Regions from separate parts of the Homo sapiens genome. Here regions 2 and 3 are each linked to region 1. The links are contacts of gene promoters, found by promoter capture Hi-C in blood cells and fetal thymus (Javierre and others, 2016). All regions are on one chromosome and are shown on one strand. The core of a region is centred on a gene start or on the middle of the fragment in contact, and the rest is flanking DNA. Distances in the headings are between cores, read along the strand shown.

What was found. Contacts are between HindIII fragments. The CHiCAGO score rates a contact against its expected background, and 5 or more counts as called.
Region 2: a fragment that was not itself captured here is called in contact with the fragment with the promoter of VEZF1 in region 1 in 3 of 17 cell types (neutrophils, megakaryocytes and endothelial precursors); the score reaches 7.6 in neutrophils.
Region 3: a fragment that was not itself captured here is called in contact with the fragment with the promoter of VEZF1 in region 1 in 9 of 17 cell types (neutrophils, megakaryocytes, monocytes and 6 more); the score reaches 15.0 in neutrophils.

What each region holds. Positions count from the first base shown.
Region 1 is chr17:57,986,056-57,990,180 of GRCh38, forward strand. VEZF1 (vascular endothelial zinc finger 1) reads right to left here and starts at 2,199. Exons shown (of 6, transcript NM_007146.3): 1 at 2,024-2,199. The coding sequence starts at 2,056. LOC101929185 (a long non-coding RNA gene) reads left to right here and starts at 2,055. Exons shown (of 1, transcript XR_001752716.3): 1 at 2,055-4,125. It also overlaps a transcript of SRSF1 not described here. RefSeq lists silencers at 1,462-1,531, 1,612-2,091, 2,162-2,441 and enhancers at 2,592-2,641, 2,662-2,801. The HindIII fragment of the contact is 4,468 bases long and covers 1-4,045 here.
Region 2 is chr17:57,872,806-57,876,930 of GRCh38, forward strand. CUEDC1 (CUE domain containing 1) reads right to left here. Exons shown (of 11, transcript NM_001271875.2): 4 at 786-912; 5 at 1-50. Among named protein-coding and RNA genes, the nearest start is that of MRPS23, 25 kb to the left of the region's middle. RefSeq lists enhancers at 959-1,599, 1,600-2,241, 2,883-3,524, 3,525-4,125. The HindIII fragment of the contact is 8,375 bases long and covers 1-4,125 here.
Region 3 is chr17:57,892,106-57,896,230 of GRCh38, forward strand. The region is part of intron 1 of CUEDC1 (CUE domain containing 1); the gene reads right to left. Among named protein-coding and RNA genes, the nearest start is that of CUEDC1-AS1, 18 kb to the right of the region's middle. RefSeq lists enhancers at 463-1,204, 865-914. The HindIII fragment of the contact is 9,384 bases long and covers 1-4,125 here.

The sequences.
Region 1 (4,125 bases), core at 949-3,448:
CAACAAATTTCACTGCACACATTGCCAAGCCCAGGATTAAATATTTGTTTTCACACTTCTCCATCAGGTGGAAAAAAAGATTTTAATAGCTGAAAAAAATTAAATAATATAAAATCTAATTAAAAAGTTGATCAATAAACGCTTGGCATTTGTTTTACCCAGGAGAAAAATAATCTTTAAAAAAGTATTTCAAAAGATTTTTCAACCAGCTTTCCAAAGATGTGTTATGGGTTTTTCCTTTACATGAAGAACACTTTTTTTTTTCAATCTCTATAGACACCATGCTTAATATGGTTTTTAATCACACGAAAATCACTTCAGTGGCACATCAATCCCATATTTTAAAATAACCATTTGAGCTTTTTTCTGGGGAAAGTATTTGCCACCTTTACACCAACCTGGATGCATGCTAGTTATATATCATTTCTTTTCCAATGCATTTTCAAGTTGGTTTATCACATTATTAGCAAGCTCATCAAAGTACAATAAAACAACACTGATCAGAATGAGAAAAGGGGGAAGTTCATGAATTCCATAATGTTGGGTATTTTAGATTTTAAGAAGCCCAAATATATTTCCATAACTACTTAAAGATCAAATTGCCCACATTTGAAAAAATATGTCTTAAAACAACAGGCCAGTCTACACAGTAGGTAATTTCTGAGTTATCCAATTCTCTATATTAACTCCACTAGGATGAATCCAGTGGCTGGGAGAATAATTTTTTGAAAATTCTGCATCCGTTCCTGTTAGTTTCAAAAGGTATCAAGCGCCCCAGCTACGCGTTTGGGATTTCACGAAGTATTCAAAGGAAAATAACTCAGAGAGGCGGGAAGAACGCACTTAAAAGTGACGAGCTTCCTAACCTCCTCCAGTTCCGAAGTTTCCCCGTGAGCTCATCGCTACTGCCCACTGAATGCTTCGTTTTGCAAACAGAAACGAAGTAGGAAAAAAATAAGTTCCAGCCTAGATCTGCCAAACAGGGGTCCCCCATCTAAAGTGGGCGGGCAAGAGAATTGCCAAAACACATCGGCTACAGTCACTTTCAAGTTTCTTGCAAAAAAGCGAAGACCAACATCCCAGAGAGTGACTCATCTGGGGGCTTTGTAAGCGGACTTTGTTTGCTCTCTCCACTTGGTTGGAGGAAACGTTCGAGGTGGGCGAGAAAGAAAAGCGCTTCGGGAGAAGGTCGGGCCTCCAGGAGTCCCGGCCCCCACCGCTCCCCGCCTGCCCCGGGCCGGCCCGGCTGGGGGATTCCCCAGGCTGAATGGGACGGCGGGAGAGCTGGACAGAGGGAGAAGGTGTCAGCTGCCAAGGCTCGGCTGAGACTTGGGAAAAAAAAATGTAAATCCAGTGAAAAAGTTTGGGGAGGGGATACACACTCACAACATCCGCCCCCCCAACTGGGTAAACACGAGAGGGGTGGTGGCGGTGAGGGGGAGTGGCGGGGAACCTGGGGATACCCGCTATTCGCGGGGACACGGGAGGGGGTCAGAAAGTCAACACACGCACGCACACACACAAAAAGACGAGGAAGGTGAAAAGAGAACAAGCGAAAGATGGATGAAGTGGCGGGGAGGAGACTCAGGGCAGGACCTGGGGACCTCCTCACCCCACCGTGGGGGACCGGGCCGGCACGCAATGGCCCAGCAGCCCGCGCTATCCAGCGGCCCGGCGCCCTCCTTTCTCTGGGCCGCGGGGTGGTGACAGCGACCGGCCTCCTCCCTTCCCCTTCAGAGCGAGAGGGAAGGGTGTGTGTGAGTGTGTGTGTGTGCGTGTGTGTGCTGGGGGGCCCCCGGGTTCACCCCGCGGCCTGCTATCTCCCCCGCACCCCGTGAGGCCGCCTCCTTTCACCTCAGCAGCCCCGCTTCGCCGGGGCGGGCGGGCGGAAAAACAAAGGGGGATTAAGGCCGGGCCGGAGAGCGGAGCCGGGAGGGAGGGGAGGAGGAGCGCCCGCCCGCCCGCCAGCCCGGGGCCCGGCCCCCCTGTCCCCCCCGTGCCCCCCCGGGGGGGCCCCCAGTACCTGGAACAGGAACGCGGTCCAGTTGGCCTCCATGGCTGCGGCGGCCGACCCCCCTCCTCCCCACTCCCCCCGCTCGGGGAGCCTCCTCAGCCGGAGGAGGCGACAACAAAGCGGCGGCGGCGGCGGCGGCAACGGCAGCGGCGGCTCCTCAACATGGCAGCGCCGAGCGCGGCCACTTCCGGTAACCTCCGGGACGCACCACCGCGGCGGCGAGCGCGGGCGGGGGGGGAGCCCCGGCCCGGCCGCCGCCGCCCCCAGTCGCCCGGACCCCCTCTGGGCGTCCCCGCTGCCGGCTCGCCGCCTCGGAGCTCAGCCAGTGCCCGCTGGCGGTGGGGTCAGGGCCCCCGCGGGGGGGCTGGGGTGGGGCCCGGGGCGGGGATGGGGCGCGGCGTCCCCCCCCGCGGGGGTGTGTGGTGCTGCGGTCCGTGGCTCAGGCAGCTGGAGCAGGGGGAGCTCAGGAGAGAAGATGGAGGACGCCAGGGTCTGGCGCTGGCCCGCTGGGCACAGCTGGGCCGTCTCCCGTGACTCAGACACGGTGTCCAGCACCGTCGCGTCCCTGTTAGACCCTCAGCGGAGGGCACAGGCCACGGCGGACACTCGGCTCTTCAGTCGCTCATGCACAGCATGGTCCCCACCTCCAAACTGGGGGAAGCCCTTTCGACTTCGAGCCTCTCTTCCTTTTGGCATTTCCTCCCCGGCCGGCTAAGCCCTCTGCGCTCTCGCTATGATATGCATCTCATGGCGAGATGGCCTTCCAACTCAAGCAGGGAATCCCACTGGGGTGCAGCCTCAGATCCTCTCAGTGTGGAGGGAAACACTTCCCACGCGTAGAGATGTCATTACTGGGTTATTCTTGGGTGAAGGGCTGAGCCTCCCCATCCTCCCCTTCACTCCAAGATAGGATGTGAAATTCTATCCCAACACCCCTCCTCTCCCGCCAAAAATAAAAACAAGTGAGATAGTATAGACAAATTATTTTAGTCCTTTAGTACAGTCTGTTTCCTCCTTCACCCCCAGAACAAAAATCGAACTTCTGGTTGGACAGCGTCAGATGTCACTGAGGTGACCCCAGCCTGTTTGCAGTTCCAAGTCTTCCGTGTAGGCGTCACTGCTACTGGAACTTTGTAGATGAGGAGCCTGTATGATGATGTCCTGAACATTTCTATCCTTTCCTCACACAGAGGGAAGCTACTGGGAATATCAGAGACAAGCTATTATTAAACAAGTGTCTCTAGTCCAAGACATCTCCTGTGGCAGGGAAATGAGGGGGCAGGCTGTATCAGTGATATTTTTATAAACTCTGGTTTTAGAAAAAATTCTTCAGATGGACGCATTATTTTAAGACTTTAACATTTTCCAAAACCAACTGAATCTTATCCCCTCCATTTATCCCCCTCCAGACACTTCTAATCAAGGTCACCATCTCCAACTTCCCCCATAGACAATAAAAATATGGCTGGAGAATTCTACTGTAATAGAAAACCAAGGAGATATAGTAATTTGACAGTGTGTTTCCTTTCCATCCACTAGACAAGAATACCCCCTCCCATTCTTTCCTCCCCTCAGTCACCAGAATGAAGGGGCTGGAAAACGTTGGTCTGGTTCCTTTTAGAGCTGATTCCCCATTGGATACTGCCTGGAGGCCTTGGGGATGAATGAGAAGTTCTGCAGTTTGGATCAGTAGCAGAAGCAGGTAACACATCAGGGAACCGGTCAGCCTAAGATAGGAGGGGACAGAAAATGATGAAAGAGTTTCTGATACATTTATCAGCTAAATTGCTATGGTCACCCCCATGTCTCCTGTAATGTCCAAACCTAAGGAATTAACTAAGTAAACTAAAACCTTTGTGTTCTTGCTCTGACCTTGGACAATGGAATTCTTCTTATTTTCATTCAGTGGATAGCAAATCTGCTTCTTCCCTGCCTTAACTCACTCAAGGTCTCTGTGATGCACTCCAGAGTTTTCCTCCTTCCCTGCATAGTCTTCTCCTCCCTAGCTGCCTTTCAAATTGGTGAAAATGAAGCTTCAGGATTATGAAAACTAGTACTTAATGAAGACCATTATTCTAATGACAATATCGCTGGACTCTTGAACTTGTTAT
Region 2 (4,125 bases), core at 737-3,236, 110 kb before region 1:
GCAGGTGGACATCCCTCTCCACTCCCAGGCTTGGGGCCCCCAGCGTTACCCTGAGGAGGGAAGCGAGCATGTTGAATGTGTACACACAAGGGTACATGTTGCACAAACGTCCACATCCCTCTGGTTGCACACATGCCCTGTCCAACATCCTCCAGCCCTCACCTGAGGCTCACACCTCCTAATGGAACCTGGTTGCGAGCCAAAATCCAACGGACAGGTCAGAGCCATTGCTGCAGGGGACACAGCAGTAGCCTAAAAACTATTTTTCCCCCACGCCACAGACCACCTCATACCTTCATCTACAACCTGAACAGTCCTGAAAACAAATCTGCAGACTGTGGAACAGCCTATACGTCAATTCCCAAACTCAACCCTCTCCCTGCACCAGCAGCCTCAGGGTGGACCTGCCCCGCTGTGGGGCACCTTGGGGCATGCCAACATCTAGCAAGAAGCAGCCTCTGGCCCTTTCCCAAGGGAGGAAGGGGGGTGCTCTGGCCCTCCACCATTGGCCACCCCATGCCCGCCTCTCTCCAGCCTGAGGTGACTGCTGCAGCAGACAGCCTCCTTAGGCTGTCACCTTCCCTGGATAGAACAGGAAACCTCCAGGCCCAGGCAGGAAGTGAGGCTTTCAGTTCAGCATTCCTGCCCTACGAACCCAGGGCAACAGAAATAGCTCAGCCTGGGTTTAAACATCAGGAAGTAAAACTGGCTGGCACAAATTGTGTGGGCAAAGAGAGATGCTGGACAAGCAGGTGGGAGTGGAAGGCGGGGGCGGCCCCTGTTACCTGTATGCTGTCCAGCTGCTGGGGCAGGATGCGGAGAAAGTCATCCGGAAGGTTGCCCAGCAGTGGTGGGTTCCAGTTCCGATAGCGTCTCTGGCTTGTAGGGGCTCCAGAGCCCAGCGCGTCGATACTAGGGGATGGCAGGTGACAGGGAAGAGGAAGTCATTAAGCCCAACCCCAGGTCTCCTGGCCCCATCACACCAGGTCCTCAGGCAGGTCGGATCCTGCTCAGAGATTCCCATGGCCTCCACTGCCTCCAGAACAAAGGCCCGTCACTCTGTCTCATCACTGGAGATGTCTCCACCAGCCTCAGCGAACTCCCCAGCCATTCATGCTCTCCAGTCACTCAGTGCCCTTCCAGGTCTCTGGACCTACAGAGCTGTCTGTCCACGGTGCACATGTGGAACTCTGTGGATTTAGCCATAGATGTTTACAAATGTCCCCTAAAGACAGCAGGGATCGCATCCTTTCATGCTTCTATCCTAGCACCTACACAGTGCCAGGCTCATGGTGCTGAGTGACAGGTATGGTCCAAAGGAACAGACACATAAGCCACCAACAGCACAGCCTGCTGCATGCTGGTTTGCTGAGGAAGGGGCATATGGGGACGCCAGGATCCCTACAGAGGGTAAAGCAGATCTGAGCTCCAGTTCTGGCTCAACCACCAGCCGGCAGGGTAGTCTTAGGTGGGCCCCTGTTCCCTCTAGGGCTCGGTTTCCTTATCTAGAAACTGCTGCCTCCCTGCCCAGGTGCTGGGGAGCCCCTCAGGAGGCCGTGTCCTGAGCAATGTTCTGAAAACGTGCGTGGAGATGTGAGTGTGGAAGGGATCTCGCTCTCAGGGTGCTCTGGGGCCGCTCTTTCCAGGCCCGTTGTGTGTGTGGCAGGAGCTCTGTGCCATGGCAGAGCCAACAGCTGGGCAAGGCAGTAGAGGAAGAGGGGGTGGCACACACCCTCCCTGACCCCCAGGCTCCCGCCCTACCGCCCTGGGCCTGAGGGCAGCTCGGAGCCCGGCCAGGAGGTCCCCACAGCTCCATGGCAGCCTGCAGCGTGGCAACCGCAGGACACGTGTTCCGCTGAATCAGGAAAACGGCACACTGAGAAGGCAGCCGAGGGCCGGGCGGTGGGGGCTGCTCTAGCTCTCGGGCCTGGCTTTGATTTGGTCTTCAGCTCTAGGAATCCCGCCCGCCCCCTCACTGGAGGGGAGCTTTTCCGGGCTGCCGCTGACTATGGAAATAACTTCCTTTCCTTTTCTATTTCGGGCGGGTGGCCGGCGGCGGGGGCGAGGGGAAGGGGCGGGGGCGGCAGCAGAAGGGATAACCAGCTGCTAAGTGCCTGGTGGGAGCTCAGCTCTTGCAGACTGGAGCCAAGGGAACCCCAGCACGCCTCGTCCACCCTCTCCCTGCACAGACACAGGGGGAGAGGGAATGGTCTGGAGAGCAGCTTGCATCACAACCCGGGACTCCCATTCCTAGGCCAAATTTTTTTCTACATCACTGCCACCTTCTGTCACTGTTGGAGGCTTCATTTTTCTCCAAAGGCCAGAGATGGGGAGAGAGGAAGCCTCATCTCTAAGGGACTCGCAGACCACCCCAGGCTACAGCAGGGAGGGACCCTCGCCAGGGGTATTACCAGTTCTTGAGGTCTCAGGGTCTTCATCTGGGACATGGGTGCCCACCCCCAATTTAACCACACCTCGGAGCCACCCAGGAAAGCAGTGGAGGGAGAACCTCAGAGGTGCACCTGGACCCCTCTAGCCATGAAGACTCCAAGTGGAGAAGGGCACAAGGTGGAGGAGGCCCCTGTTCTCAGCTGAGTTTCCTTGCTGCTAGGCCTGTGGTCCTGAAGGAAGGCCAGGCCCAGCCCCCTCCCGGCCCCTTGGCTGGCACTGGTAGAGATGAGGTCAGCCCACAGCTGCGTGAGCCAGGGCACAGGCAGCCCAGGCAACTCCATTGTGGTCGGAAAGGAATGTCAGAAATGAGCTGAGACGCAAATAAAAAAAAAAACTTCCAAGGCTGTAATTTTAACGGAAAAACAGCAGGCGGCCTGTGTGGAAGGGTCCCCGGGGTTTCAGAGACTGTCTTTCAGACAGATGGAGGGAAGGACAGACTGGGGGAGGGGAAGGAGGGAGAAGCTGGGGAGGATTTCCCAGCCCAGAGCCTCTGCCTCTGGACCCCAAAACTGCAACTTCAAGCCCCATCGGACCCCCAGGTTTACCCATGGAACATCAGACCTGATGGAAAGGGATTTCAGACTCAGGACTTCCAGGTAAAATTTTTGGTAAGAACTGGACATTGAGGTCCAGAGGGGGTTCAAGCCATGTCCCAGGACACACACATCATCCAGGCAAAACCTGGGCCCAGGGATTGTGACATTTGAAGCATGCTCCCCGGGGTGGCCCTGCCTCTCTGTGCCCTAGGAGGCCAATACCCACGCTCCCAAACTCTGCCCCATCTGCAGGTTCTCGGCACCCCAGTGACTGGAGGTAGCAGATGGGGGCCAGGCCATTCCCCCACTCAAATCTGATCTCCCTCAGCAGCCAAAGGAAGATTCCTAAAACACGAACCTGATCGTGTCGCTCTCCAGGTTAAGGCCCTTGAATGGCTCCCCGCTGTCTGCAAGAGAAGACGGAAGCTCCCTGGAGGGCCACAGGGCCTTTGATCTGCTTGCCTTTCCAGCCTCACCCGCCGTTAGGTACTTCCAGGAGGTCTCCAGATGAGCCCTCTTTCCTGCCTCCAGGCCTCTGCAAGTGCTCCTTCCTTTGCCTGAGCGCCTCCCTGTCCTCTGCTTCTCCACATTACTGCCAATGTGGCCTTCAGGTCACAGCCTGGACATCAGTTTCTCCTGGCAGCCTTCCCTGCCCCCGTGTCTTCGGCTTCCCTAGACCCTGATCTCCTTGGCAGTGTGTGGGCAAACAGGCAGCACCGTATTCACCTCCACATCACACACATGGCTCAGCACGTGGTTCACACACATAGTTCAGGAGTGCTGTACTCACCACCTCATCATACACATGGCTCAGCACCTGCGTATGGCAGGCAATCAGTAAATGCTGGAAATGAATGTCCTGGATGGAGGGACTGGACAAGGCACTGGAGATGGCCTAGAGGCCCAGGTCTAGCAGAGCCATCCTGGGGCAAAGGGATCTGTGCCTCTACTGAACACTGGCCTCTGGGGGAAGCCTCGCCCCTGGTCTCAATGTTAGAGCTAAACTTAGAAGCCAGCCAGTGTAGCTGGGGGACAGGAAGGAGCAGTAAACCACTGATTATAGGTCTGGTCTATACCTGGGTCTGTGCTAAGTGCTCCACACACATCTCATTCAATCCTCCTAACAGTGCTAAGGTGG
Region 3 (4,125 bases), core at 827-3,326, 94 kb before region 1:
CTCACAGCAATGATGGGAGGGGGCCTTTTCAGTTTCCAAAGCCCTCTCTCCCCTACACACTCATTTACTCCTCACAACAAACCTAGAAGATATATAAGGGAATGCGTTATTATCTCACTTCACAGACAAGGGGTCTGAGGCCAAGGCAGCCCAGTGACGTGGACACAAGGCTGATGGCAGGCTGCCCCTTTCCAAGCCAGTGCCAGCACCAGGGGGCAGGAGGCTAACCCCCTCCTAGATCTGACTTGACCTTCCATTCTGCCCCCCAGGAGGACCAGGGCCCAACCCTGAAAGGTGGGAGTTAGAACAGGAAGCCACAGGTCCCAATTGCCAGCACCTTCCTGTGTCCCACCCAGAGGCCACTCTTCTGGAAGGAGGGTAAGACTCCTCAGACCAGCTCTGTCTCTGTGCACCCCAGGCTCCCTCCTCTGAAAATCACCAAGGAGCAGACCCTACGTCCATCTGTGACTGCCGTGATGCCTGCCTGCAGAGGGATTTGCTTCTTGCCTAAGATCTGGCACAGCCCAGTGGCGCTGCCAAGCCAGGCCACTAGGTGGTGTCCCAGAGCTCAGGCCCTGGCAGCTCCCAGGGAAAGGGCCAGAGTGGCTTTTCTCTCAGAACCCAAGAATGTGCCCCACCCCCACCCTTGGCCTGATTAAAAGGGAGAAGAACCACCCAGTTGCCTCAGGGGTCTTAGCACCCAAGACCCGCAGAGTTGTCAAATCATTTAATCCTAGGCAGGAAATCTTTGGCACATGTGCCACCACCTTCTAGCCCTCATCCTTGGCAGACATCACTAATCCACCCAGGTATTACTGTCCTACAGAACACACACAACCTCAGAACCCTTTGCAACACCGCCTCTGTGCAAGCCACGACCAAGTGATTAGAACTGGCATGCAAGACAAGCCACTTGCCAGCGCTCTCATTTCCCGTATGAGGACACGCAGGCCAGGCTCACTCTGTCTCATTGGGAATCCAGGCTGCAAAAGCCAGTGGGGCCAGAATGAGGTCATATGACCCTGGGAGGCTTGTGTAACCATGGTTGAGTCCTGCGGAAACCTCAAGTGTGTAATGGCAGAGGCTGCTGGGCTGGGGCAGCTGCATTCTCGGCCAATTGTCACCTCAGAGCGGGTGGGGTGCAGGGAAATCTGCCTGAGCTTCTTGGCTTCAGAGCTGAAGAGGCCCCAAAAGGGGGTGAAAGGAAGGGAAGAGGAGAGCAAGAGACAGAGGCTCTCAGGGTATGTGTGTGTGTGTGTGTGTGTGTGTTTCAGGCAGCCCTGACAGAGACGCCTTGTCCTCCTGCCCCTGCAAAGGCTTGTTTTCTTCCCAAGCTATTAATGTCGCTGCAGCTTCAAAAGCCGGGTGACCTTTAAACGCTGAGCCTCCTGCTCCTGCCCAAGGCTCGGAAAAGGCTTAATGGAAACTCGACCCAAATGGCCACAGCTGCCGGGGCTGCAACAAAGCCAGCCTCATTCCCGAGGCCCCCAGAGCTGCTGGGCAGCCACACCTGTGCCCACCCCCAGGCAGCCAGGAAGGGCAAAGAGGACCCTCGGGCACAGCCATTGGAGAAAAGAGGCCACTGGACCTTAGGGGAGGAGGAGGAGGAGCAGGGGAGAGACAGACAATGCTGTCATGCGCTGCTGTGTGACCTTGGGTACTTCTCTGGACCACTCATCTCTTCTACATCTGTAAAACACGAGAATTTGGCAGGGCACAGTGGCTCACGCCTGTAATCCCAGCACTTTGGGAGGCCAAGGCAGGTGGATCACGAGATCAGGAGTTCAAGACCAGCCTGGCCAAAATGGTGAAACACCGTCTCTACTAAAAATACAAAAATTAGCCAGGCATGGTGGTGGGTGCCTGTAATTCCAGCTACTCGGGAGGCTGAGGCAGAGAATTGCTTGAACCTGGGAGGTGGAGGTTGCAGTGAGCCAAGATCGTACCACTGCACTCCAGCCTGGGTGACAGAGCAAGACTCCGTCTCAAAAACAAAACAAAACCAAACCATGAGGATTTGATAAAAGGACTCCTAAACCTCTTTGCCAGGAAGAAGCCCCACTGCCACCCAGAGAAGCAGGACACCTGGTTTCCATGCCCACACAGCAGAGCTGCCGGCAGGGGTGAGGCTGGGGGCAGCCCCTGCCTTCCAAAGGCTACTCCATGAGCTGTGCAGGCTGGGCATGGCATGATGCCTTGGCCACCCCCACCCCTATCACTTAGATCTGTAAGGGTGGGGCATTCCTTTAAAAATTGTTTTTAATCTTTAAAAATCAGAAGAAAGGCCAGGCTTGGTGGCTCATGCCTGTAATCCCAGCACTTTGGGAGGCCGAGGCGGGCAGATCATCTGAGGTCAGGAGTTTGAGACCAGCCTGGCCAACATGGTAAAACCCTGTCTCTACTGAAAATACAAAAATTAGCCCAGTGTGGTGGCGCATGCCTGTAATCCCAGCTACTTGGGAGGCTGAGGCACTTGAATCACTTGAACCAGGAGGCAGAGGTTGCAGTGAGCCAAGATCACACCACTGTACTCCAGCCTGAGCAAGAGTGAGACTCTGTCTCAAAAAAAAATCAAAAGAAAAAATACGATTCAAAAAAGACCTTTTCTTTTCTAATTTTTCTCTCTCCTGCCTCAACACTTGTGGCCAAGTCTGTAGCCAATGGGAGATGTGGGGCAGGGACGAGGGCAAGAGGTTTCAGAGAAGGTGAATGAGGTCCCTTGTGGACAAATTGGTCCCAGAGCCTCAGTCCTAAGGACATCATCATTCATCTCTGCTCCTGAGGCCCAAATATCAGGTGTGGCTGCCACAAAAGGCACCATCAAGAAGCCAATTCTGCCTTCTAGTGAAAAAGATCCAAGATGAGGCTTCTCAGCAGAGAAACATGTCATTTGTTTGGTTCATCTTAGCAAGATAATGGTCATAATAGTCATAATGAGAATAGATAACACTTATTGCCTGCTTCCTTATATGCTAGCCACTACTCAAAGTGCCTTATTGCATGTTAACTCTCTTCATCCTCCCTACAGCTCTACAAGGTGCATATTACTACTGCTATTTCCACTTCATAGTAGAAAAATGAGGCGTAGAAGGGTTGAGTAACTTGTTCAAGGTCACACAGCTAAGTGGCCAAGCTGAAATTTGAACCCAGAAGGTCCGATTCCAGATTTAACACTCTGTATCCATTGGGCTTGATCACCATTCCATATTCCCTAGAGCCTAGCACAGAGCTGGGCACACAGCAAGAACTCAATAACTGTGAGTTAAATTGAATACTAAAGGACAGGGTTGCCCCTGGAGAGGCTGGGGGTGCCTGGGTGCCACTGGAGGTATAAGGGATGGTGCTTATGTCCAGGAAGCAAAGGAGAAGACAAAACAGTGGCAGTTTCCTCACAAAACCTTTTTCCCATCCTACTGAAGTTGTCAAGTTGCCTGAGCAACCAACTGTTTTCCACCACAACCTGGGCTGGCTGGGGACTATTTCCACAACAGTCCCTCACTCCATAAACAAAAGCCACCAGCTCAGCCAAGATATTCGACTCAGGTGCCTGGGAGGAGATCAAACCTCAGCGGATTAAGGGGGCTACTGTCCCCCTGCCCCTCCCCTCCCAGGTGCCACAGCTCTAGGGGACCCCACTGGGCTGGCAGGAACACGCGCGTTCATGCTACCAAGTCAAAGGGCCCACGCTGGAGGAAGGGGGCCACTGGTAACTCAGGTGCAGGGCCAAGGAAGCTGGGTTGGCTCCAGGCATGAGCTCATACTGGACCAGGCCCAGCTTCTTGGGAAAAGGGGTCAGCTGCTCCTCCCTGGGCTTCTCCTATAGGCAGTCAGGCTGAAGGCCCCCCCAGTAGGCTGAGTTCTGAGGTCTGGACAGCAGCAGGAGACACCTCTGGGTCCCCGGACAGGCAGCAATCCATGCCCCACAATTTAGCATCCGAACATGCCCAGGTAATCCGGGTCAAGGAACCCATGATTAGAAAGGAGTGCTCAGGATGGGCAGAGGAGGGTCCTGCAAACAGAACTCCCAACCCCTGCCCTTGCCCTCCACACTAAGGCACACTTTGCACCTACCTACTGATTCAGGAATTCCACTTCTATGAAATTTACCTACAGATGATATGTTTG